Linked DNA regions of Homo sapiens: all the other regions are linked to region 2. The links are contacts of gene promoters, found by promoter capture Hi-C in human tissues and cell types (Jung and others, 2019). All regions are on one chromosome and are shown on one strand. The core of a region is centred on a gene start or on the middle of the fragment in contact, and the rest is flanking DNA. Distances in the headings are between cores, read along the strand shown. Region 1 overlaps LINC00229 (long intergenic non-protein coding RNA 229). Region 2 holds the start of PARVG (parvin gamma). Region 3 holds the start of LOC124905132 (a long non-coding RNA gene). Region 4 holds the start of LINC00207 (long intergenic non-protein coding RNA 207).

Region 1 (6,199 bases), core at 933-3,432, 440 kb before region 2:
TCCCCAGGGTGCTGGGGGGAGGATGGGTGCACAGCAGCCTTGGTCCGGGTTGGCCCAGCCTGGCTGAAGGGACAGGGTGCCTTTTTCCTTTCGTAGAGTATGGTCGTGTCACCTTAATTTTCTGTTGTCTGCTGGGCACAGCTTCGTGCTGCTCCTCACTGCTGCACCCAGTGCTGGAAAGTGTGTGTGTGGCTTGAGTACATCTGGGTGTGAATGCGTGTGCCAGTGTTTCCGCCTAGGTGTGTGGTGTGTGTGTGGTGTGTATGAATGAGTGTGGTATGTGCATGAGGTGTGTGGTGTGTGTGGTGGCTGTGTGTGGTGTGTGTGTGCACATGTGTGGTTGGTGTGTGTTTATGTGGCATGTGTGCTGTGCATGTGCGTGTGGTGTGTGTGTGCTGTGTGTGCCTTTGTGTACATGTGCGGTGTGTCTCTGTGGTGAATGTGTGTGTTGTGTGTGACCAGTGTGGTGTGTGTGTGGTGTGTGTGTGTTTGTGTGGTGAATGTGTCTGGTGTGGTGTGTGTGTGTGCCTGTGTATACGTGGGTGGTGTTTCTGTGTCTGCCGTGTGTGTGTACATGTGTGGTATGTCTGTGTGTGGTGAATGTGTGTGTTGTGTGTGTGTCCAGTGTGGTGTGTGTGAGGTATGTGTGTGTGTGGTGTGTGTGTTTGGTGAATGTGTCTGGTGTGTTGTGTGTGTGTGCCTGTGTATACGTGGGTGGTGTGTCTGTGTCTGGTGTTTGTGTGTGTACATGCATGGTGTGTCTGTGTGTGTGGTGAATGTGTGTGTCATGTGTGTGTCTGGCATGGTGTGTATGTGGTGTGTGTGGTGAATGTGTCTGGTGTGGTGTGTGTGCGCCTGTGTGTACGTGTGTGGTGTGCCTGTGTGGTGTGTGTGTGTGTACATGTATGGTGTGTCTGTGTGTGTCGTGTGTGTGTGTCTGGTGTGTGTATGTGGTGTGTGTGGTGAATGTGTCTGGTGTGTGTGTGTATGTGCGCGCCTGTGTGTACATGTGTGGTGTGTCTGTGTGTGTGGTGAATCTGTGTCTGGTGTGTGTGTGGATGTGCATGCCTGTGTGTATATGTGTGGTGTGTCTGTGTGGTGAATGTACGTCTGGTGTGTGTGTGTGTGTATGTGTGCGCCTGTGTGTACGTGTGTGGTGTGTCTCTGTGTGGTGAATGTGTGTCTGGTGTGTGTGTGTGTGTATGTATGCCCCTGTGTGTACGCGTGTGGTGTGGCTGTCTGGTGTGTGTATCCAGTGTGGAGTGGTGTGTGTGTGCGTGTGTGCGTGTGTGCATACCTGTGTGTATGTGTGTGGTGTGTCAGTGTGTCTGGTGGGTGGTGCATGTGTGGGGCAGGGAGGGTGGATGTGGCAGTCTCAGGGCCTCTGGGAACAGGAAGTGGCCGTGTGGAGAGGGGCCCCGGGTTGGCCCGGGTGGGGACTCATCCTGGTTCCCTCCTTCCCGGACTGACCTGGGTGGAGACTTATCCTGGCCGCCTCCCTCCCAAGCTGACCTGGGTGGGGAGTCATCCTGCCTCCCTTCCTCCCGGGCTGGCCTGGGTGGGGGCTCATCCTGGCCGCCTCCCTCCCTGACTGATCTTGGTCATTCCTGCCCCGACTTTTGTTTCCTGGCTCACGGGTGTGAGCAGGTGTGCAGGTGTGTTGGGTGGAAGGTTCCAGAACCAGAGGTCAGAAGCCCTCCCTGCCTACACTTTCCTCCTCCCATTCCTTTGCCGGGCAGAAGAGCGGGTAGCAAAGGTTCCCAGGTGGCCCGGTGACTTGGGCTCTGGCACGCCTGTGTCTGCACCTGGGGACTGATGGGGTGGGGACCGGGAGCCTCAGCTGTGGGGCCAGCGTGGGCACCCCATGCAGTGCTAAGATGTGGAGAGGGCGACTTTGTTGCTTAATTAGGAACAGGTGGCCTTTGATCTCTAAGGTGTCCTGGTGGCCTGGCTCTCTGTTTCCTTAGCAGGCACTGGGAGTCCTCCTGTTGAGAAACTGCTCAAGGGAGGTGCATTTACTAGGGACACGGAGAACCCCCAGCTTGGCTCCCCGTGGATTTGTGGCTACACTGGCCTGTCACCGGCCATTCTGGGCATAAGCGGGGCTGGGGAGAAGTGTCCCTAAAAAAGAGGACTTGACCAGAAGGGAGAGGGCTCCAAGGACAGCAGGACTGGAGGTCAGTCTAAAGGTCAGAGCTCGTTTTTCCATTCTCTGTCCGAGACTGGAGGTGGAGGGGCTGGCCCGAGTCCTATAGCCAGGTGTGGGCAGAGTCACTGGAACCCGAGTCTCCAGAGTCCTGGGCTCCTTCTGGAGACAAACCAAGCACCAGGGAGAATCCTCAGATCCCTCCTGATGCTCAGGGCCCAACCTGCAGGCCTGGGCAAAAACCTCTTCTTTCCCTGGGCACAGATCCCCCCCGGGAGGTGCAGGGACCATTTACCATACTCCCTGGAAGCCGGGCCCCTGGCTGAGTGCTCTCCAGGGATGACCTCAGCTGACCCACCTGGCCACCTATAGAGGAGGATCCTGTTCTCAGAGAGGGTGAAGTCACCTCCACAGGGACAGGGAGCTGGAGAGACGGGGGGGAGGGTTCTGAGCTTGGCTCAGACACCATAACTGCCCTCTTCTGCATGCTGGAAGCCCAACTTCGAGGGACTGGTGGATTCAGTTCCTGGCAAGGGCTCTCTCCTTGGGTTTGCAGGTGGCCACTGGGTCTTCACAGGGGGCTGGAGAGACAGGACCCCAGTGCACCCACTCTCAGCAAACCCCCACACTAGTGCTGTCATTAGCCGTGTCATGCTGTTTATTATCCCTACTGTTGCATTGTGAGTTTGTGCGTGGTGCTATCCCCGCTACTGCGATCACTTTTGTTATGGTTGTGATTATCAAAATTATTGTTGTTTCTACAGTCACTGTTATTGTTGCATTTATTATCGCCGCTTTAATTGTTATTCCTCTTTGGTGCCGACTCTCCCGGCTGTGTGCCAACTTCCCATGCAGCCGCGGTTCTCAGCACAGCGACTTTGCCCCCCAGGAGACACTCGTGTGGAGACATTTCTGGTTGTCACAGTTGTGGGGAGGTGGGCTGCTGGCGCTACTGCGTAGAGGCCAGAGGCGTGGTTGGGGCCTGCGATGCACAGGTCAGGCCCCACCACAGGGAGTTACCTTGCACAAAATGTCAATGGCGCCCTGGCTTCCACATCATCCAGAGCAGCTGGAGCCCTTTGCTGGGGCAGCAGGGAGTTGATGGGGGGAGCGGGTTCAGGTTTCTAGAGTCTTCTTTGGGAAAATGAGCATGGGGTCGTCACGGTTAAAGCTCTGCAAACCAGACCTCTGGGTTCCTACTTGGCTTCAACATTTTCCTGCTGTGTAGACTTAGCCTGCCTGGGATTCTAGAACGAAATAACATGGACTAGGGGCTTAAACAAAGGATGTTCATCTCTCATAATTCTGTATGCTGGAAGCCCAACTTCGAGGGGCTGGTGGATTCAGGTCCTGGCAAGGGCTCTCTCCTTGGGTTTGCAGATGGCCACTGGGTCCTCACAAGGGAGAGGGAGAGAGAGGAGCATGAAGGGGAGGAGGAGGAAGAGGGCAGTTACAGTGTCTCTTCCTCTTCTTATAAGGCCACTAATCCCATCACAGGGGCCCCATCCTTATCTAAACCTAATCACATCCCAAACACTCCACCTCCATATACTGTACTATCACATTGGAGGTTAGCTTCTTCTTTTTTTTTTCTTTTTTTTTTTTGATAGAGTCTCACTCTTTTGCCCAGGCTGGAGTACAGTGGTGTAATCATGGCTCACTGCAGCCTCAACCTCCTGGGCTCAAGCAATCCTCCTACCTCAGCCTCCTGGGTGGCTGGGACCACAGGCATGCACCACTACACTGGCTAAGGTTTTAAAACATTTTTTGTACAGAAAAGGTTTGGCCATGTTGCCCAGGCTGGTCTTAAACTCCTGGGTTTAAGGGCTCCTCCTGCCTTGGCCTCCCAATGTGCTTGGTTTGAAGGCATGAGCCACTGAACCTGGTCTCAAAGCTTCAACATATGAATTTGGGGGGACACATTCAGTCCATAACATGTGTGATCTTTTTTCAAAATTTATTTTTGCTATAAAAAATGTATGATAACATACATACACATCTATACACCCTTGTGGCTGCCACCTGGCCAAGGTGTCCTTGTGTTCTCTCTCCCTCAGCACATTTCCTACCCTGGTGGTGCCACGGCTTCTGGCACTGCAGGTAGTTTTGTCTGTTCTTGAGCTTCACGTCCCCAGAATCATCCCAGCCAGAGCCATTTCTGTCTGAGTTCTTCTGTTTATCGTTATTCTCACAAGATCTGCCCATTTACAAAAAGGAGCAGTTGTTTGTTCCCTTTTTATTTGTATTATTCTATTGTATGAATATACCTAATTTACCATCCCTTCTCCTATTGATGGATATTGGGTTTGTTTTCAGTTTTTGTCTACTTTGAAAAAAGCTGTTATGAATTTTCTTTTCTTTTTTTTTGAGGTGGAGTCTCACTCTGTCACTCAGGCTGGAGTGCAGTGGCACGATCTTGGCCCACTGCAACCTCCGCCTCCTGGGTTCAAGCAATTCTCCTGCCTTAGCCTCCCGAGTAGCTGGGATACAGGCATGCTCTACCACGCCGAGCTAATTTTTGTATTTTTAGTAGAGATGGGGTTTCACCATGTTGGCCAGGCTGGTCTTGAACTCCCGACCTGAGGTGATCCACTCGCCTCAGCCTCCCAAAGTGCTGGGATTACAGGCATGAGCCACCATGCCTGACTGAATTTTATTTTATATGCCTTTGGTGGACACAAGATCTCATTACTTTTGGGTATATATTTAGGAGTGGAATTGCTGGGTCAAAGGGTTGGACTCAATGTAGCTTTCACAGGTGCTTTCAAACCTTTTTATAAAGTAGTTATTTGGTATCTTCAAAAAATTTTAAGTAGACTTTTTTAAAGAACATTTGTAGACTTACAAGTGAAATTAAGATGATAATACAGAGAGTTCCCACACACCCTGCCCCTAGTTCTCCTATTTTTAGCATCTTGCATCAGCATGGTACATTTGATGCGAGTATTAAACCAATGTTGCTAACATTCTCATTAACAAAAGCCCATATTTTATTCAGTTTTGTTCGTTTTTAACCTAACATCCTTTTTCTGATCCAAGATCCCACTCAGGATCCCACATGACATTTAGTTGTCATGTCCCATTAGGTTCCTCTGGGTGGTGACAGCCTTTTTTTTTTTTAATTTGCCATCTTTAAAGAAAATGTTAATTAAAAACATAGAGATAATTGTAGATGCACACACAGTTGTAAGAAGTAATAGGCCGGGTGCGGTGGCTCACACCTTTAATCCCAGCACTTTGGGAGGCTGGGGCAGGAGGATCATGAGATCAAGAGATTGAGATTATCCTGGCCAACACGGTGAAACCCTGTCTCTACTGAAAATACAAAAATTAGCTGGGCAAGGTGGCACACGGCCATAGTCCCAACTACTTGGGAGGCTGAGGCAGGAGAATCGCTTGAACCCAGGAGGTGGAGGTTGCAGTGAGCTGAGATCGCACCACTGCACTCCAGTGCAGGGTGAGACTCTGTCTCAAAAAAAAAAAAAAAAGTAATAGCAAGGAGGCCAGGTGCAGTGGCTCACACCTATAATCTCAGCAGTTTGGGAGGCTGAGGTGGGCAGATCACTTAAGGCCAGGAATTCAAGACCAGCCTGACCAACATGGTGAAACCCCGTCTCTACTAAAAATTAGCTGGTCATGGTGGTGCACCCCTGTAATCCCAGCTACTCAGGAGGCTTAGGCAGGAGAATCACTGGAACCCAGTGTGGAAAGTAAAAAGATTCCTCTTCAAAGTTTCCCTTCTTGTTAAAGAATAAATCATAAGTGTTAGAAATAATAGTTTCTTTTAAAGGCTAACTTCCTTCAAGCCTCCTTGCTTTGTGCTAATAACTGTTTGTTAAGCCCTATCCTAGGTAGCTTTTAGATATAAGGGAATGAGTGCATTCTATGTCCTTGTACTTTAACCAAGGTATTTGTTCTAGACATGCTCAGGCATGTCCCAGCTCACAGCTTATGCACCTTCTTTATTTGGAAATGTTATTACTTCTCTAAGTCTTTTCATAAGCAACTTCCTCTTTTCCTTTGTTCTCCCTTGACTTTACCTATTTAGGAAAG
Region 2 (6,538 bases), core at 1-2,500:
TTCACCTGGAGACGGAGGGGTTGGCTGAAGTTCAGAGGCGGCAACTCCTCAGTAGAACAGGGAGGGAGGACGCCGAGCAGCCTCTGAGCAGGGGCAGCCGGAGGGGCCGTGGGGACTCAAGGTCCCACTTTACCGACTCCCTTCCCCGGGTGGCCTGGGCTGGGACTGCACTCTGGGATCCTTCCCAGGTGGTGTCTGGGCCCCTCCCTCCGTGACCCCCAACACTCAAGTATGGTGGCCCCGATGCCAGAACTCACCCAACCGCTTTCCACGCAGGAAAACAAAGGCCTACTGAGTGCAAAGGGTGGTCCCTGGATTCCGAATGGAAGCAAGTTCCGGGTTCTTCTGGGGTCTTCGGGGACCAGGCCGGGAGGCAGGAGCCCCGCTGCTCACTTCCTCCAGGCCCGCTCAGCCGGCAGGAGCTTCCTCCTCTCTGCGGCAGGGCCCGAGGGGGGTGGATGCCGTGAAAGTGAAGCTGCCACAAACCTCCAGAAAGCTCTGCCCGGAGCCCCAGCGCCCGCCGTGCCGCCTGGGCCCCCGGGGTTCTGCAGGCCACTTAAACTCAATGCTTTCATTTCTCCCCCTCTCCCCGCCTTCCCCAAACCATGCCAGTTTCCCCGCAGGCTGTTCACCTCCAAAATGGCAGCTACATAGGCCAGAGCCTGGGGTCGACCCCCGCAACCCACCACCAGCACCCTGTCAGCCTGGCCTCCACCCTCCATCCCGCACCGCCGTCCTCCCACCTCCACACCCCGCCCCGGGCCAGGCCCCTTCCTCTCCCGGGACCACGCAGGAGACTCCTACCTGGACTCTCGGCTGCAGACTTCCCCACGCCCCCTGCCCGCCCCTGAGCTGAGGCTCCCACAAGCCCTCGGAGGAGTGAGTCACTTCCTGACCCCACTCACTCAAACCCACCAACGGCACCCAATAGCTCTTAAAATAAAATCCAGGCTGTGCGTGGTCTGTCTCTCTCAATCGCGGTTACATACCCGTGTCTAGAACAATGCTTGGCACAAAGTGGGCTCAGTGAATAAATATTGGTGGTGGTTGTTGCCAAGGGGATCGGGAAGGCTTTCCAGAGGAGAATGGGGCCTTGACGGCTGCATAGGAGTTTGCAGTGGAAGAAGAAGGGGTGAGAACGTGGCAGGTGGAGAAAACAGCGTATGCAAAGGCATAGCAGGGTTCGAGAAGGAGAGATCTCAGCACAGTAGATAGAGAAACACTTCAGACCCGAGCTGGTCTCTCAAGCTGGAATCTTCACCATCCGGGCTGAAATGGTGAGTTTCCCTAGCAACAGGTGACTGGGAAGCTATCTACCCTTTCTGACAGGTTAGGCAGAAAGTGGCTAAATCAGGTGGGATGCAGGTGTAAGGAGTGTGTGAGAGCAGGAAAGTAGGGTCGTTTACAAGAAGTTAATAAAAAATGACAAAACTTAGTACTGGTATTGTTGCTAATATTTATGGAGTCATTGGTGATGAAACAAACATAATTTTAAGGGCTTTCATTTTACTGGAAACTTCCTTGTGAGGTAGGTACAATCATCACCCCCATATTACAGAGGAAGACACTGAGGCACATGAGTCAGTCCCTGCCATTCTGAAGTGCCCGTGCTAGACTGGGGCTTGTAACAGGTGGGGAGAGAAGCCACCGTGCAGGACCTATTTTGCTGGGGCGTGTGTAGCAGGCTCAGCCCAGCTCTGGACACAGTGGTTCTGGTGGTGGCTTCTGACTCTGGATCACAGCCACATAGATGTAGCAGCAGTCACAGTCCCAGCAGCAAAGAGACGGTATATTCCCATGTGCTAACTGAAGACTGTTTAATAAAGGGACAGCTGGGGCAGGGTTAAAGGAACCCAGAAGAGACAGTGCTACACCCCAGGCTAGCAACATGGGGAGCTGTTACTTCTTCAAAACCTAGAGGGTGAAGGAGGGAGTGGGTGGCAGAGCCCAGGAACAGAATCACTGAAGCTCTAAGAGGGGCCTCGGGATAGGAGCTGTGGCCTTTGGTAGAGGGACACAGCCAGCTCATGGTGAACCAGCAGAAGGGCACAGCTGGAGGAATCAATGACCAAGCCTCACTCTCCTCCCTCCTGCCAGGGCCTCCCCTGCCCACATCCAGCCAGAAGCCAGAGAAAAGAAGTCCCCTGCTGCGGCCCATAGATGTGAGGAGAGAAAATGGTGGGGAGTGGATCTGCAGAGGTGAACCTAAAGCATTCAACCCAGAAAGCATGCTTCTAGGGCCAGCCTGACTCGGCAGCTTCCTTCAGGAGCCAGCTCTGCAGTATTCTTCCAAGAGTCCTTGCTGGAGGCGCTGCCTCCAGCCTTCCAACAGCTTGAGAATCACACAGCTTCCTATGTTAGATTCCTTTCTCCTCCAAACAACTGAAGAGACTCTAATCATCGGCAACTGAATCCCAATTAACTTCGGATTTGTTACCAGAAACAATTGCAGGCAACACGACCTCCAGGATGGGAACTGGGATTGGTTACTTGTTCTGGTTGATTTAAAGGCAGTGGGGACCTAGTAACTGTTAGAGAATGGAGTTCTAATAGATCGTAGCCTGTGATGGCAAAATAATTACCTGTCATCACTCAGAACGAAGTACCTATTAAATTGTGGCTTTGGCAGAGTTGTGGCTTCCATACGCAATACGAGCACAGGTTATCTAAGGACTGTGGGGTGAGCTTGTTATCATCACACCAAAGAGTTTAAAGCAAGAAAAGGACAGTCCCAGGGCTTTACATTCTCAGCTCAAGGTATGTGCAGAATACAGGGAGTTCTCTGATAGCCCTCAAAGCTATCTCTCATCTCTTGGGGCTGCAGGGCTGATGTAAGAATCAGATGCGAAATCTAATCCTGTATGGTGTGGAGTTACAACAGACTAAATCCACAACTCACAAAGCCTCTTGTGTGTAGAGCATTGTTTAGGGGAAGAGAGGGACTCTAAGAATTGGAAGAGTAACATGGAGATAAGTCCAAGCACCCCCAAACCCCAATTAAGAGAAAGGCATGGATAGAAGGGAATTATTCCAGCCTTTTTTTTTTTCAGAGACACGGTGTGAAATATACCTGTGCAAATATGCCAAACACTACTGAACTGTATACTTAAAAATAGTTAAGACAGTACATTTTATGTTACGTGTATTTTTAACCACAACTAAAATTTTTAAAAATTAATAAAAAATAAATAAATTGCAGGGATCACATCACTTTAGGGATATCTCTAAATACTTCAGAATGTTTCTCCTAAAAACATTCTCCTGCATAACACAGTACCATTATGATACCTAAGAAAATTAGCATTGATAGAAGGTTTTCTAATATCTCATCCACATTCAAACTTCACCAAGGCTTCAAAAAATGTCTATTACAGCTGTATTTTTTTTAATCCAAGATCCATTCAGGCATCACACAGCACATGTGATTGCATTTGGTTTTCATGTCTCTTTAGAGCCCTGTAATCTAGAACAATCTTTCACGACACTAACATTTTTTAAACATCCAGGTCAGTTGTCCTGTAGAATCTATCACTTCTGTCATTTCCTGGTCTGCTTCTGTGGACTGATTTTTCTCCCGATTGTGGGTCACAGTTTCCTGCTTCTTTATAATAATGTTTTATTGAATGCTAGACATTAAATTTTTATGTCGTCGCGTGCTGAATTTTGTTGCATTTCTTTAAGAAGTGTTGGAATTTTTCTGGCAGAAATATTCTTTTGATGTCTGTTTTTAATAAGCGTAATCTCTGCAAGCTCTGATCTTTGTCTCCTTAAATCAGTGAGACCTGGCTCTGTCTGGGTCCCCCTCACTACAGCACAGTCCAGGAATTATGTCCAGGCAGAAAGCCAAGACCAGGGTAGGGCTCACCTCACTTGCCACCCTTTTCTTGGGGATCACAGATCTGACTCGCCTCTTAACATTTTACTTTTATATAGTTTCAAACTCACAGAAAAGCTGCAGGAAAGTACAAAGAGTTCCTATGTGTATTAGTCCATTTCCATGCTGCTAAAACAGACATACCCAAGACTGGGTAATTTATAAAGAAAGACAGTTTAATGGACTCACAGTTCCACCATGGCTGGGAAGGCCTCACAGTCATGGTGGAAGGTGAAGGGGGAGCAAAGGCATGTCCAATGTCTGAAGTAACTGTTTCCTGTGTTTTGTGGAGGCTTCTAGTTATTCCTGATGGAAAGGTAACTCCAAAAGTGAAAATTCTTTCCTCATAAATATTGATCGATTACAAAGAAGAGTTACATTTTTTAGTGTACAAATTTGATAAACACTATATTAACTAAGTAATATATATTTTTTAAAAATAGAAACAGTGCACTCTGTCAGACTGGAGTGCAGTGGTGTGATCACGGCTCACTGCGGCTTTGAACTCCTGGGCTTAAGTGATCCTCCTGGGTAACTGGGACCACAGACGTGTGCTCACATGCTAAGTAATCAAAATTAACATCATAAGAAAGTAAAACAATCAACATGACATGTCTCCTGGTAATGATGCGCTGAGAGGAACACATCACTTCTACCGAAAACGCATAACCTGGATCTAATAACGAGGAAAATACTAGATCAATCCAAGCTGCAAGACATTCTGGAACATAACTGGCTTGGATTCTCCAAAGAATCAAGGCTATGAAACATAAGGAAAGACTGAAGGGCCACTCCAGACTACAGGAGGCTGGAGAGATGGGACAACTCATTCAATGCCTTGTCCTGCCTCTTATTTTGGCATAAAGGACATCATTGAGACAATTGGAAAAAAACACAATTAAGGTTTGTAGATTAGACAATGCCATTGTATCAATGTTATTTCCTGATTATGACACATACTGAGATTATGGAAGAGAATGTCTTCACTTTTAGGAAGCTACACTGATGTATTTAGAGGTGAAGAGGATATAATGCATGCAACTTACCCTCAAAGATTCAGAAAATATATATATCACCAGGTAAATGTGTGCGTCTAAAGAAATATATATCATTATTATTATATCGAGAGAGGCAGATAGGCAGGGACAGAAAGAGAGTGAAGAGGATAAAGTAAAAATGTTAACATTCATGAGTCTCCAGGTAAACATAGTGATATGGTTTGGCTATGTCCCCACCCAAATCTCATCTTGAATTGTAGCTCCCATAATCCCCACGTGTCATGAGAGGGACCTGGTGGGAGGTAACTGAATCATGGGGACGGGTTTTTCCATGCTGTTCTCATGATGGTGAATAAGTCTCATGAGACTGGTTGGTTTTATAAAGGACAGTTCACCTAAACACACTCTTTTGCCTGCCGCCATGTAAGATATGCCTTTGCTCCTCCTTCGCCTTCCACCATCATTGTGAGGCCTCTCCAGCCATGTGGAACGGTGAGTCCACTAAACCTTTTTCCTTTTAAAATTACCCAGTCTTGGGTATGTCTCTTTTAGCAGCATGAGAATGGATTAATACACATAGGAACTCTTTGTAGTATTCCTGCAACTTTTCTGCGGGTTTGAAACTATATAAAAGTAAAATGTTAAAAGAAAAAAAAAAGCCTTTGCTCTCATCCTAGTTTAATATCACTCTAAGTGCACGAATTAAAAAAAAAAAATCCAATGTGTTATACTCCACATTGCTCCTTCAGATGCTTGAAGTATCCAAAATGTGGACGCTGTTTGTGCCTCTGTCCTTTTGACATGTCCCCATCATTCCTTGAGTACAGTTGGCCCTCCATATCCTTGGTTGCACATTCATGGATTTAACCAACCACGAATTAAAAATATCAAGAAAAAATTGCATCTGTACCAGACACATACAGAATTTTTCTCCGTCATTATTCCCTAAGTGATACAGTGTAACAACTATTTACATAGCATTTACATTGTATTAGGTATCATAAGTAATTTAGAGCTGGTTTAAAGTATGCAGGAGGATGTGCGTAGGTTATATGCAAATACTGTGCAGTTTGATATCAGGGACTTGAGCATCTTCAGATTTTGGTATCCTCCAGGGTCCCGGATTCACTCCACAGAGGATACCAGGGACAACTGTGCTTCCCTGCTTTCCGGCACAGTGTTTCAGGCTCACCTTGGCAATACATTTTAAGAATGAGATTGTGGGAGGAAATCTAGCACTACATTCCAAAGCCATCGAGAACATCAGAACCCTGTGTGGATGTTTCGAAAACACACCAAACATCCACAAAGGTGTTGCATACTTTAAGGTGACAGTCTTTCCTAAAAGCTGTCCGGTGTGACCATGTCCCGGCTGTTAGGACCAGCCACATGGCCACCTAAATCCGAGGGGCTGGGGACTGGAAGAATATGTGGCCTTTGCCCCATTTCCCTGGTGTCAGAGACCTCCTTACCCGCCTCTATGCCCAGATGCAGCCCTCTGCTCCATCTTCGTCCCAGACCTGCCCCCAGCTGCATTTCTTCATCGGCCTCACTGTGTTGTCCACCTGCCACTCCACTCTCTCCTGGTTCCTGTGCCCTAGCACACCCCCACCCCCCCACACCCAACGCCTCAGCGGCACACAGCAGGCTCCCACTACTCACTGAC
Region 3 (6,510 bases), core at 2,845-5,344, 480 kb before region 2:
CTGCCCCCACCCACTCTGCAGGGCCAGCTACCAGCCAGGAAGTGGCTGGAGGCCCAGGCCAGAGGCCAGAGCGGTGGGGGCCACAGGCTGAGCCAGGACAGGGCTCAGAAAGGAAGGGTCCCCCATCCTCGACCATCTTTGTTTGCCCTATTAGGGGGAGCAATGGCGAGGGAGGGGAGAGCTGCCATGGGGAGAGAGCGGTGTCGGGGAAGGAGATGGGGACACGGGGCGGCTGGACGGAGACCCACCCACAGAGACGCGGACAAACTCAGAGATAGAGGGAAGGGGGCGGGGCGGGGGGCGAGCGAGAGAGGCTGGGAGAGAACGAGCTCGGGAGGTCCCGGGAGGCTGGGGTGGGAGAGGCTGGACCTTCACCCAAGGGGGCCGCCCCTGCCCCGCAGATTCCGTCCGACCCCTACCCCACCCTAGGGCCCCGCAGTCGGCGTCGCGCGCGCGCGCACCTACGCGCGCACACACACGCGCGCGCCGCTCCGCCGGCACCGCCCCGGGGCCCCCCCTTCCGCAGGGTCGCGCGTGCCGCCCCCCAACCCCAGCCACCCGGTCCCCTCTCCGGCCGGGCCTCCGGACCCGTAGCCGCCGCTCACCTCGGTCCCCGCGCCGCCGCCGCCGCTGCCACCGCGCAGAGCCAGAGCCGGAGCCGGAGCCGGAGCCCGGGGCCGGGGGAGGGGGCCGCGGAGGCCCCGCCCCGCCCCGCTCCGCCGCGTCCCGCCCCTCGGGCCCGCGCGGGGGCGCCCGCAGCCGCCGCAGCCCCCAGGGACTCGGGGCGCTGCAGGGGAGACTCGCCTAAGTGCGGCAAGCGGGTCCGCGGGCACGCCCACCCGGGTCCGCCGGAGCTGGGGGGCTGGCGCTTGGGCCCCCTCCCGGCCTCCGCCCCTGAGCACTGCGCAGGCTGTGGGCGGCGCCCGCCGGGGCAGGGGGCGTCCCGGGTCACCCGGCGGCCCGGATCGGCCCGTGACGCCCTCACCCCACCCCTCGGCGGGCCGCAAACGTCCAGAGAGCGCCCCCTCCCCAAGCCCCGACCTGAGCGGGGCGCTAGAAGCCGGGAGGACAAATCAGACGGTCAGACTCAGTCCCTGTCCCGGGGATCGGGGTCCAGCCGCGGGCGGAGCGGGGAGGGAGGGGAAGACGAATGGGCCTGGCACCAAAAACAGCCCAGGGCTGTGGTTCTCAAAGTGTGGCCTCCGTTAGTGCAGAGTCCCTGGCCCCACCCCGGACCTACAGAAGCAAAACTCGGGGTTGGGCCCCCTATTTTAACAAGCCTTCTGGGTGGTTCCAGAGTTCAGTAAAGTTTGAGAAGAACTGCCCTGGTGGAAACATCCAGCACCCCACATCCTGCACCCCACAACCCACATCCCACACCCCAGTGTCTCGAAAAGGGCTTCTTTTCACTCTTCACTTAAACAGCCTCACCCTGTTTAAGTACCTCTCCGTTGGTACGTGGCTGTGGTGGGGGCAGTGGGCGGGGAGCAGTGGTGTCTGTCCCAGGAATCCCCGAAAGGATTGACAGTCAGTGCCTGGTAGAAGCCGCAAGTCCTGTACCAGAGGCCAGGCTGTGGGCATTCGGGCGGTGATGGTTATGGTTATTGTGTTTTGGTGTAGTGATTGTTTTAATGTTTTAGAATGCAATTGTGCAAATATTTGTGTCCATATTCAGTTGTAAAGCTTTTTTTTTCCCCTTCCATCATTGTGCTTGTTTGACGCTAAGCCACTCATCCCCCAGAAACAGTGTTGACATGAGGCAGATCAGATGGCCGGCCTTCCTGGTGACCAGATTTCAGGACAGCAAGCATCCCGGCCAGACCCCAGGTACTCTAATGGGGTCCATAGGGCCCTGGGAGTGAGCAGCTCTGCCTGAACTGCAGGATGGGGCATCCTAGAGGGAGGAGAGGGCATCTGGACAGAGGGGCCTAAAGTGTCTGGGTGGCATCTAGACTGGGCAGACAGTGCCTGGATCGAGTACTGGGGTGGGGCTGGAAACGGCCCAAGAGGTGCCAGAAGGAGGTGGAGCTGTTCTGAGCCCCGTGCTGCCAAGAGGGATGTCCTGGCCTTGGAGGGACCTTTGAGGTCATCTAATCCAGCCTCTTGGTGTGTGACCACTAGGACCTCCCCCACTTCTAATTAAACTTTCCTTCTTTCTTTCTTTTTTTTTTTTCTTGAGACCGAGTCTCGCTCTGTTACCCAGGCTGGAGTGCAGTGGTGCCATCTTGGCTCATTGCAACCTCTGCCTCCTGATTTCGAGTGGTTCTCCTGCTTCAGCCTCCTGAGTAGCTGGGGCTACAGGTGCCTGCCACCATGCCCGACTAATTTTTGTATTTTTAGTAGAGACAGGGTTTCACTATGTTGGCCAGGCTGGTCTCAAACTCCTGACCTCAGGTGATCCACCCGCCTGGGCCTCCCAAAATCCTGGGATTACAGGTGTGAGGCAGCACGCCCAGCCTAAACTTTCTTATTTTGAGATAATTGTAGATTCACATGCAGCTATAAGAAACAGTAGAGATGTCTTGGACCCAGTTTTCTCCACTGGTAAAATCTTGCAAAATTATACTACAATATCACAACCAGGATATTGACATAGATGCCATCAAGGTACAGAACATTCCATCAGCAAAGGACCCCCCCGTGGACTTTTTATGTGCTTATCTCCCTCCCTCCTCCCTCCTGGCAAGCACTTATCTGTTCTCCATTTCTGTAATTTTATCATTTCAAGCATGTTATATAAATGCAGTCATACAGTATGTTACCTTTTGAGATTGCTTTTTTCACTCAGCATAAATCCCTGAAGATTCTTCCAGGTTGCTTTGTGTTTCAGTAGTTTGTTCCTTGCTATTGTGGAGTGGTCAGCATTCCATGGAATGGGTGCATCATAATTTGTTTAGCCATTCACTTGTCGAAGACTATCTGGGTTGATTGCCAGTTTGGGGCTATTACCAATAAAGCTGCTATAAACATTTGTGTACAGGTTTTTGTGTGAACATAAGTTTTCATTTGTCTGGGAAGAGTGCCCAGGAGTGTAATTGCTGGGTCGTATGGGAGTTGCATGTTTAGATTTTTAAGAAACTGCCAAAATGTTTTCCAGAGTGTACCACTTTGCCTTCCCAGCAGCAAAGCTTGAGTGATCCAGTTTCTCTGCATCCCTACCAGCATTTCGTCTTGTCCCTGTGTTTTATTTTTGCCATGCTGATAGGTGTGTAGTGAGATCTCATGGTTTTAATTTGCCTTCCTCTAACGACTATTGATGTTAAAGATTCAAAACGATCTTGAGAGCTTATTTACCATCTGTAAATCCTATGAGTGGTAGGTGTGTTCATGTCTTTTGCCTATTTTCTAATTGGATTTTTTTTTTAAAAAATGTTCATTAAATTTCTTTCTCTCTCTCTCTCTCTCTCTCTCTCTCTCTCTCTCCCTCTCTCTCTTTTTTTTTTTTTTTTTGATGGAGTTTCACTCTTGTTGCCCAACCTGGAGTGCAGTGGCACAATCTTGGCTCACTGCAACCTCTGCCTCCTGGGTTCAAGCGATTCTCCTGCCTCAGCCTCCCGAGCAGCTGGGATTACAGGCGCGCGCCACCACATCTGGCTAATTTTTTGTATTTTTAGTGGAGACAGGGTTTCACTATGTTAGCTAGGCTGGTCTTGAACTCCTGACCTCAGGTGATCCTCCCACCTCGGCCTCCCAAAATGTTGGGATTGCAGGCGTGAGCCACGGCGCCCGGCTGGTTATTTCTTTATGGTGTAGTTTATTCAGAAATTCATGAATTCCCTGAGAGAGAGGAGAGTTGTCTCTTTTCTTCCCCAAAGTATCTCTGGGTGTTTGGAAACAGTCTTTGGCACGTATTAGAAGGTGGCTAATAGGTATTTGTTGAAAGAATCAGTGAGTAAATGAATACATGACCCCATGGTGCGTGGTTCTGGCCACGTCATTTGTGGCGCCCCCTGCTCCCCAGATCCATTCACTGCCTACTTTGTGCTCCCTGAGGCTGACCTGGGTGGACGGCATCCCCCACCTGGTTACATTTGACCCATGGAGGCAGTTGCTGGAGATCAGCCGGAGAGAATGAGGCATTTCTCCTCTTGCCCTCTGCTGACCCTTGCAGTCCCTGCGGGTTGCATGCTGACCACAGCTCTTTCCCGGATGCTCTGCCAGGCTTTAGCTCCACTGGCTTCCGGGGGAAGCACCATTTCCTTCCCTCCCTTCTGCAGCCCCAGGGCTGGTAGCAGCTTCCCTCTTTTGCTGGCCTCTGGCTCTCCCTAACCTGCCCACGCCTCTGTGAACATGAACCACCTGGTCAGCTCTGCCTTCTGCTGGGACCCTGACTGTAACAGATAGATATCATTATTATTATTATTATTATTATTATTATTATTATTGAGATGGAGTCTCGCTCTGTCACCAGGCTGGAGTGCAATAGCGTGATCTCGGCTCACTGCAACGACTGCCTCCTGAGTTCAAGGGGTTCTCCTGCCTCAGCCTCCCGAGTAGCTGGGACTACAGGTGTGCACCACCACGCCCAACTAATTTTTGTATTTTTAGTAGAGACGGGTTTTACCATGTTGGCCAGGATGGTCTTGATCTGTTGAACTCGTGATCCGCCCGCCTCAGCCTCCCAAAGTGCTGGGATTACAGATGTGAGCCACCGTGCCCAGCCAACAGATAGATATTATTGTTGCCACTCTACAGAATTGGAAACTGAGGCTCAGAGAGGTTATACATCATGCCCAGGACCACACAGCAAGTCCTGACAGAGCCAGGGTTGAGCCCAGGCTCCCTGGCTTGGAGCCCATGCTGCTGGCTTTCAGAGGGTTTTGAGCTCTTCTCCTCTGAGGGGCCCAGGACTGGGGTCAACATGAAGGTGCCTCAGGTGACCCAGAAGGCAGCTGAGACCTGGACCCCCTCAAAGGCACGCGGGTGCCTGTCATAGCTCTGGCAGTGACCACGAGCCCATTGGCCTCTTCCTCCCTGTGAGAGCTGAGCATGTCTCTGGGGCCTGGCAGGAAACCCAGCCTGTGTGTGTTTCTGCTGCTCAGTCACGTGAGACTGTGGGAAGCTGCTGGGAGGCTCAAGTGAGGCCCCTGCCCCAGCCACAGTGGCGGCCTGACCTCACATTTCCTTCGCTTCTTCTCTGAGTGAGCAGATGTGGCCAGCACCCACCACGTGCCAGGACCGTCCTGACACCCTGAGGGCGAGGGGGGCACCGTGGCAATGTATCGGAGGGAGAGGGCACAGGCTCTGCAGCTTGAATACTAAGGCTGAGTCCCTTCTTGAGGGACCCCAGGCTCCTTGCTCCTGCAATGGGGACCATTGCACTTGCTAATTTCACATGTTTATCCTTTCATTTATTTGCCTATCCATTGGTGGATGGAGCCGTTAAAACATAGTTAATGAGCCTTTGTTTATAGCCTGCAGCTAAGAAAAGAGCTCTGTGAATCTAAAGCCCTGTATGAAATGTAGTTCTCTGATGGGGGCGTCTGGGTACCTCCCACCACTGCCCCTGTGTAGCCTAGGCCAAGAGGGCCTTTGGTGCCATTGAAGGACTGAGTGAAAACCTGACTTGTCTGAGGGCTCTGTGCACTGGGGGGCACCCCTGGACCCTACCCTGTCCCCTGTCACCATAGTCAGGGAGACAGGCCCGACAGTGCACAGTGACTAACCCAGGGCCACACCATGTGTTAGGCAGAATAATGGCCCTCTCCTCAAAGAATTCCATGTCCTGATCCCTGTAGCCTGTGAATTTGTGGCCTCACGCACTCCTTATGGCGAGAGGAACTTTGCAGATGTGAATCAGGGTCTTGAGATAGGGAGAAGGTGCTGCATTCTCCCAGGGGGCCTGACATCATCACAAGGGTCCTTATAAGAGGTGGGCAGGAGGGTCAGAGTGAGAAAAGGGCGAAATGACAATGGGAACAGAGAGAGATTGGAAGATGCCACCTCTGTGGCTTTGAAGCTGCAGGAAATGGCCACAAGCCAAGGAATGCAGGTGCCTCTGGAAGCCAGAAGGGCAATGAGTGACCAGATTCTCTCCTAGAGCCCCTGAAGGAGCACAGCCCCACCCACACCACAGCCTCCAGAACTGTAAGAGAAGAAATTTATGGGTTTCTTTTCTTTTCTTTTTTTTCTTTCTTTTCTTTCTTTTTTTTTTTTTTTTTTTTTTTTTTGAGATGGAGTCTTGCTGTGTTGCCCAGGCTGGAGTGCAATAGTGTGATCTCAGCTCACTGCAACCTCTGCCTCCCAGGTTCAAGCAATTCTCCTGCCTCAGCCTCCTGAGTAGCTGGGATTACCACGCCCAGCTAATTTTTGTATTTTTAGTAGAAATGGGGTTTCCCTATGTTGGCCAGGCTGGTCTCAAACTCCTGACCTCAAGTGATCCACCCGCCTCGGCCTCCCAAAGTACTGGGATTACAGGTGTGAGCCACCATGCCTGGCCAAAATTTGTGTTGTTTTAAGCCTCTAAGTTTGTGGCTATTTGTTAGAGCGGCCACCAGAAACCAGGATACC
Region 4 (6,359 bases), core at 1,933-4,432, 390 kb before region 2:
AAAATTGGGGAAAGGACACCAACCTGCCTCAAAGATTCCACTCCAGGTGGGACCTAGGTGGGAGGTGCCCAGCCCACAGGATGCAGGGCAGCTTACAACGCACCCTGGCTTCTCAGCCAGAGCCTCCCAGGCTCCCCACCTTAGCCTCCCACACACCACTCAGGCATCCACAACACATTTAATTTGATTTAGGGAGGGAAATCTCTATTTTTTCGGTGGTGTTAGCATTGACGGTCTATTTCCTGCTTGGGACTCAGTGCCGAGTTGGCATTAATGTAGAAAAATTAGTATTATCAGGGCTGCTTTCAGAGCCATCGCTCACACTGCAGCCCGTGACACGTTAATTAAACTTGATAAATGCTCTTGTCTAAAGATAACTTTTGAACAAAGGATCCAGTCACCTTATTAGCTGGCTACATGCTCTGGTAAATTGCCTGGGAGGCTTTTGGAACTCCCTAGGGCCTGTGGCTGGGGACCGCAGGGCTCTGTCTTGGGGAGAGGGCTTCTCGGCTCTCCCAGTTCTGGGGATGGGCAGTCGCGCTATGGCGGGGGCACCCTACACGTCCCAGGGGCTGGGGAGGGCACTGTGGACCTGGAGGGCAGGATGGGTGTCTCAACCCAGCTCCCACCGTGGGCTCCGTCCTCTTCCGATTTGCAGTTCCCTTCACAAGCCCCTTCCGGCTCAGCAGCCTGCCCTATCACCATAACAATCCCATCCCACATGAACCATCCATCAGGAAGCCCACCAATATGACGGCTGCCCCCGCTGTGGCGTGGTCCTTGGGGCCCATCCTGCAGTGGTGTCATCTTCATGCCATTCAGCTACCGGTCCTCCTCTCCCTCCTTCTCTTTCTCCTCCTTCATCCTCCTCCTCTTCTTCCTCCCCACCCCCAGTGATCTCGGCTCACTGCAACCTCTGCCTCCCAGGTTCAAGGGATTCTCCTGCCTTAGCTTCTCAAGTAGCTGGGGTTACAGGCTTGTACCAGCATGCATGGCTAATTTTTTTGTATTTTTAGTAGAGGCGGGATTTTGCCATGTTGGCCAGGGTGGCCTTGAACTCCTGACCTTGGGTGATCCACCCGCTTTGGCCTCCCAAAGTGCTGGGATTACGGGCATGAGTCACCTCACCCGGTTGGCAGAGTCAGTTTCTAAGGAGAGGGAAGGAGGGGCACTGGGCAGGCTCTTGGCAATCTCTGCCAGGAAGGCTTTCCCAGCTCTGAGTAATTCTCTTTGTAGCACGTCTCAATTGCAATTTTATATTTGCTTTTTTCTTGACTTATTTGATGACTGTGGGCTTCACAAGGGCAGGGGTTTCTGTATTTTCTATGTTCCCCAGCAAACAGTAGGTGTGTAATAAAAATTTGTTGAGTGAATGAATGAATGAATAACTTTTCTCTGTATCCCTAGGTAAGCTCCTCTCCTTCTCTGGGCCTCAGTTTCCCCATCTATAAATCAGCCCATCTTTAAGCCTTCTCCTGCTTCTCAACCTCATGATGCTGCCCTCACCCAGCGCTCCAAAGATCAGATAGGGTAAGGTGGAGGGAACATTTATTAGGCACCAACTGTGTGCCAGGCCCTGTGCAGGGCAATGGGAGCTTGAAGATGGATCTGACAATGTTCTGGCATTCCAGAGACAGGGTAAGCAGTTCCACAGTGTGGCCTGTGGTGGACACGGAGAAGCCCCTGGGTGGTGGAAGCCAAGAGGAGGCACCTGACCCTGGATGGAGGGTCAAGGAAGGCTGCAGGGGCCTGAGTGATGGGTGCAGAAATAATAGGAGGCAGGCCGGGCCTGGTGGCTCACGCCTATCATCCCAGCACTTTGGGAGACTGAGGTGAGTAGATCACCTGAGGTCAGGAGTTCAAGACCAGCCTGGCCAACATGGTGAAACCCCGTGTCTACTAAAAATACAAAAACTAGCCAGGTGTGGTGGCGGGCGCCTGTAATCCCAGCTACTCAGGAGGCTGAGGCAGGAGACTCACTTGAACCCAGGAGGCGGAGGTTGCAGTGAGCTGAGATGGCACCACTGCACTCCAGCCTTGGTGACAGAGCAAGACTCCACCTCAAAAAAAAAAAAAAAAAAAAAAAAGAGAAAGAAATAATAAGAGGCAAAAATTCCAGGCCAAGGGAGCTGCCTGTGCAAAGGTCCATGGTCAGGAGAGAGCATAGGTCCCATTCTGTTGGTGTTGCCCTGAGGCAGGGGATAAAAGGGGACATTGAGGCCCAAGAGGCAAGCCCAGGATGAATCAGAGAGGCCCAGAGGGCAGTGGGGAGCTGTGGGTGAGCTTAAAGCAGGGAAGTGGCATGATCAGAATTGTGCTTCAGCATGAGCAAGCTGACTCTTCTGAGAAGGCCGGCCCAGAGGGCCAGAGGCTGAAGGCTGGGACGCGGTGCAGAGATGGCACCTGGACTCACCAAGGCAGCCTCCACTGGTGACTGGATGTGGGAGACCTCTGCACTTGTTCATAAGGTGTTTTCATGACCCTTCATTCACTTAATCCTCCAGATTATAGCCCTGGGGACAGGCATTGGCGCTAGGTCACACTGATGGCCCCACTCTCCCACCTTCTTTGGAGCTGCCCGTTTCACCGGGGCTGGGTTGGCCTGCCCACCTCTCACTCTGGGCTTGGCCCTGTGATCCATGTTGGTCAACAGGACAAAGCGGAAGTGGCTGTGGCCCACCTTGAGCTGAGTCTCGGGGGGCTGTGTACCCTCTGCTTGCTCTCCTGCACCTCTGCCATTGCCACGAGGACACACCCAGCTCAGCCTGGGAGGGTGAGGAGCACTCAGGCTCATTGCCAGCAGCTAGCCGCCCACCAGACACGTGGGTGAGCCCCGCCAAGACCAGAAGAATCGCGCCACAGAGCCCAGCTGAAACTGCTGAACTGTGAGTCAAATAAACACTTATTTGAAGCTTCCAAGTTTTGGGTAGTTTGTGACACAGCTTTATTGTGGCACTAAATACAGTTTTCTGTCCTTATTTTAAAGACTGTGTCTTTTGAGTTTTCACGGCCAGGGACCCTGCTCTGAGGTCCGTGTGATTTGCCTGCACTGTGCGACCTCCCAGCGCCGATCTCGGAGGCCTCGGCTCCCGGGGGATAGGAAGGCGGTTTTGCCTGGCCCTGGGCTGCGGCAGTGCTGGAGCCTCACCTGTATCAGTGTGGCCGCTCCACTCTGCTGGCTGTTCACTCATCGCCACTGCTGTGGTTCCAGCCGGGAGCAACAGCATCATTATCTTCAAGATGCAGCAGCAGGAGTCTTCATCTGATTCTGAGCCTCACGTCTCAGAGCAGAACTGACTCCCGCTGGGAGGTGGGGCTGCATCCTCTTTGTGAAGCTGAAAATGAAGAGGAAATTGTCATCGGGGGTTACGAAGAACGCGGTGGCATTTGCGACAGATGGCAACGCAGCTAAGTTTCCAATCATCGGGCTTGAAGCCGTTCTTTATTTGTAACTTTGCCTTTTCAGTGCAGATAAGTTCGGGCCTCGTTATTTCTCTCTAGGCTTATGGCGGAAAGCTAGGCATGGTGCTGCTGGCCATGGGGCAGGGTCCGAGCACCCTCCTTTAGCTGGCCTGTCCAGCCTCGCCTCTGATGCTGTCTCTGCTGTGCTATGGTGTAAGGAAGAAGCCAGAAGGCAGGCGATGTGGGTTCCAGCCCTAGTTCTGCCTGTTACTGGCTGTGTGGCTGTGGGCATGTTATGGTCCTCTCTGGCCTTGAGGTTGTCATTTGCCACCCTCTACACCAGCTGCCACTGGGGCATGGGGGAGGAGACAGAAGATGTTGGTGGGAGGCAGACCATGAGGCTCAAAAACATCAAGGGCACAGAGAGGTCAGTGGGGGCTGAACACATTAGCCAGGACTCCCAGCAGCAGGAAACTCACCAGTCCAGCCTGCTCTGCTGACAGGACGTCCCTCCAGATGTCCAGAGGAAGTTCCAGAGGAAGTCTGCCAGCTTCATCTCCCGAGCCTCCATTTCCTCATCCGTAAAGTGGGTAGGGCTGTGGCAAAAGTTCCATGGCATGAGGTGCGAAGAGTGCTCACCTAGGCCGGCACATCATGGGCTCTCTGGGGACATGGACCATTTTCTCCTCCTCCCGAGGCAGGCCAAGCTCCAGGAAGCAGAAGACCTTCCAATGTGGGAGGAGAGGGTACTCAAGGGGTAGCCCAGTAGGGCTGAAGGTCTTCCCCGGTGCCCTGTGCAAACATGGGGGCAGGTGGGTGGTGCATGGCAGACCTGGTGTTCCTGGACATGGAGGCAGCCCATGGCCACAGCTGTGCTGAGACTCAGGCCACTCAGTTCATCCCTCTGCATCCCTCTCCCCCTCCTCCCTAAAGCCCTGCAAACCTGCCTTCGTGGCCCTTTTCTTCCCTGATGAGGCTTTGGAATGAGCTGCTTTTTTTAGCCTCTCCAATCAGGCCGGCATCGTGCTTGGCTATTGTTAGCATCTCAGCTCGACGCCTCCTTCAGAAAGTGATGAGATCATCCTCCCAGAGGTCCACGGTCACCTTTCCACAAGGCTCAGCAACGTGCAGACCTCTCCTCCCATCCCCTACCCTGGTCCCAGGACAGGGACAGTGACAGCACTGAGAAGAGGAGTCAGGGACTGAACTAGGAGCAGGAAGGGAACTGGGAGTGAATGATCAAGGAGAATCTACTGTGGGCTCCGGACAGCGTCCTCTCTGCCCGCCAGCAACCCTTCCTTGCCTCTGGGGCCAGCACTTTGTTTTTCCCTCAAGGAGCCAGCTCACCTTCTGTGTCATGCTGTACTGACCCCCACGCCTTACCAGCCCATCATGCACGGTGTTCCCCTCTGGTTCAGTGATTGGATCCCAAGCAGGATGTGTAACCATCCATTCTCCTCTTTAAACAGAACCTGTTTTGTTGGAGTGAAAGTTTGCCCCCTTAAAAATAGGTGTTACCAGGTTCCCTTGCAGCTAGGAGTGGCCATGGACATAAGAGGAAGTCTGCCAGTTTAATTTCCCATAAAAGGGGATGGTCTCAGGGGCACACACCCTTCTTCCTGCCTGGAATGTGGATCTGATGCCCAGAGCAGGAGCAGCCACATTGCAACCATGAGGATAAAAGGTGCAAAGACTGGACTTTCTGACAAAGATGGTGGCACAGATGCACACATGTACATTTGCCTCTTCTTGAACCCTCACTAAAATGATGGTAAAGATCACTTTACGGACATTACCCTCAAGCAGAAAGAGAAAAGGGGAGGAGGCCCAAGCACCAACATTTTGGAGACTGGAAACCTGGTGGATGAGCCGTAACCCACTAGGTGAGCTTGAGAAGCTGAAACATGGCCGGCCAGCAGCATGCAAAGATGAGAAGCAACAATGGGCTGGGAGGATGGAGATGCCAGATATTTCTGGAGGGGAGTGAAGGAGGATTGTTTCAAACAACAGCAGTTAGTCTTCCTCTCACGGGAGGGACAGAGACAGAGACAGCTATCCACTCCCACTGCTTACACAACTGGGAGATTGCCCCTCCCTGAGCCTGGCAGAAACCCCAAGATTTATTATCAAGAAAGGGTCTGGCAGAGGCCTCTGGACTGGGGGATGCCACTCCAAAAGCAGGGCATGTACTGAGTATTGGAGACCCCCGCCTCTTTCTCCTTGCAGCCCCCGGAAAACCGGCAGCCAGGCCTCACGTGCAGCAGGGGGGAGCTGGGGGATCATTTTGGTTGGGGTCAGTTCCACTGACCTTCCTAGTGGAAATCCTCACACTCTGACCCCCAGTGACCCCCCGGGGAAGCAATCCGCCAGATCACCTGCAGTGGAGACCGCAGTCAGAAAACGCTACCCAAGGGCTCAGCACTTCCAATCAGCTTCTTTGTTTTTTAAATGAAGTAGACATTTAAATGACGTTTATATTCAGTGAAGTGCACAGATCTTAGCACAGTTTGATGAATTTTGGCAAACTTACTCCCATGTCACACGCCTCCCTCAAGGTAGAGGACATTTCTGCCAGCTGGAAAATCTCTCACCAGGTCACCCTCCCATCTGATCCCCGTCTCCATCGCCTGTCCTCCCCATCCCCTGCAGGCCGTGCTGTTCCGATTTCTATCAGCATAGAGGAGCCCTGTCTGTTCTAGAAGTTCATATAGATGACATCACACAGCACATACTCTTCTATATCAGGCTTTGTCACCTAGTAGAATGTTTTTGAGAGTCATCCATGTATTGCAGGCCTCAGGGGTTTGCTCCTTTCTGTGGTTAAATGATCTTCCATGGTTTAGAATGGAATATTTATCCACTCTCCTCTTGACGGACATTTGAGTTCTTAATAGTTCTTGGCTATCACAAATAAAAGTGCTATGAACATTCTTGTACAAGTTTTTATGTGGACATGT

The links. Contacts are between HindIII fragments. The study calls those that stand out against the background at their distance.
Region 1: a contact is called between a fragment that was not itself captured here and the fragment with the promoter of PARVG in region 2, in 1 of the 25 tissues and cell types used here (dorsolateral prefrontal cortex).
Region 3: a contact is called between a fragment that was not itself captured here and the fragment with the promoter of PARVG in region 2, in 1 of the 25 tissues and cell types used here (lymphoblastoid cells).
Region 4: a fragment that was not itself captured here is called in contact with the fragment with the promoter of PARVG in region 2 in 1 of the 25 tissues and cell types used here (small bowel).

Annotation. Positions count from the first base shown.
Region 1 is chr22:44,612,262-44,618,460 of GRCh38, reverse strand. The region is part of intron 3 of LINC00229 (long intergenic non-protein coding RNA 229); the gene reads left to right. Among named protein-coding and RNA genes, the nearest start is that of LINC00229, 10 kb to the left of the region's middle. RefSeq lists an enhancer at 1-358. The HindIII fragment of the contact is 8,753 bases long and covers 1-6,199 here.
Region 2 is chr22:44,175,637-44,182,174 of GRCh38, reverse strand. It overlaps PARVG (parvin gamma), which reads right to left and starts at 1,250. Exons shown (of 14, transcript NM_022141.7): 1 at 990-1,250; 2 at 258-433. RefSeq lists enhancers at 1-532, 533-1,263 and silencers at 640-769, 1,940-1,989. The HindIII fragment of the contact is 25,740 bases long and covers 1-6,538 here.
Region 3 is chr22:44,662,901-44,669,410 of GRCh38, reverse strand. It overlaps LOC124905132 (a long non-coding RNA gene), which reads left to right and starts at 828. Exons shown (of 3, transcript XR_007068127.1): 1 at 828-1,080; 2 at 1,742-1,827; 3 at 4,412-6,510. It also overlaps a transcript of PRR5 not described here. The HindIII fragment of the contact is 3,376 bases long and covers 2,407-5,782 here.
Region 4 is chr22:44,569,015-44,575,373 of GRCh38, reverse strand. It overlaps LINC00207 (long intergenic non-protein coding RNA 207), which reads right to left and starts at 6,034. Exons shown (of 4, transcript NR_028411.1): 1 at 5,933-6,034; 2 at 4,786-4,874; 3 at 3,882-3,998; 4 at 2,925-3,335. RefSeq lists an enhancer at 622-1,161. The HindIII fragment of the contact is 7,273 bases long and covers 1-6,359 here.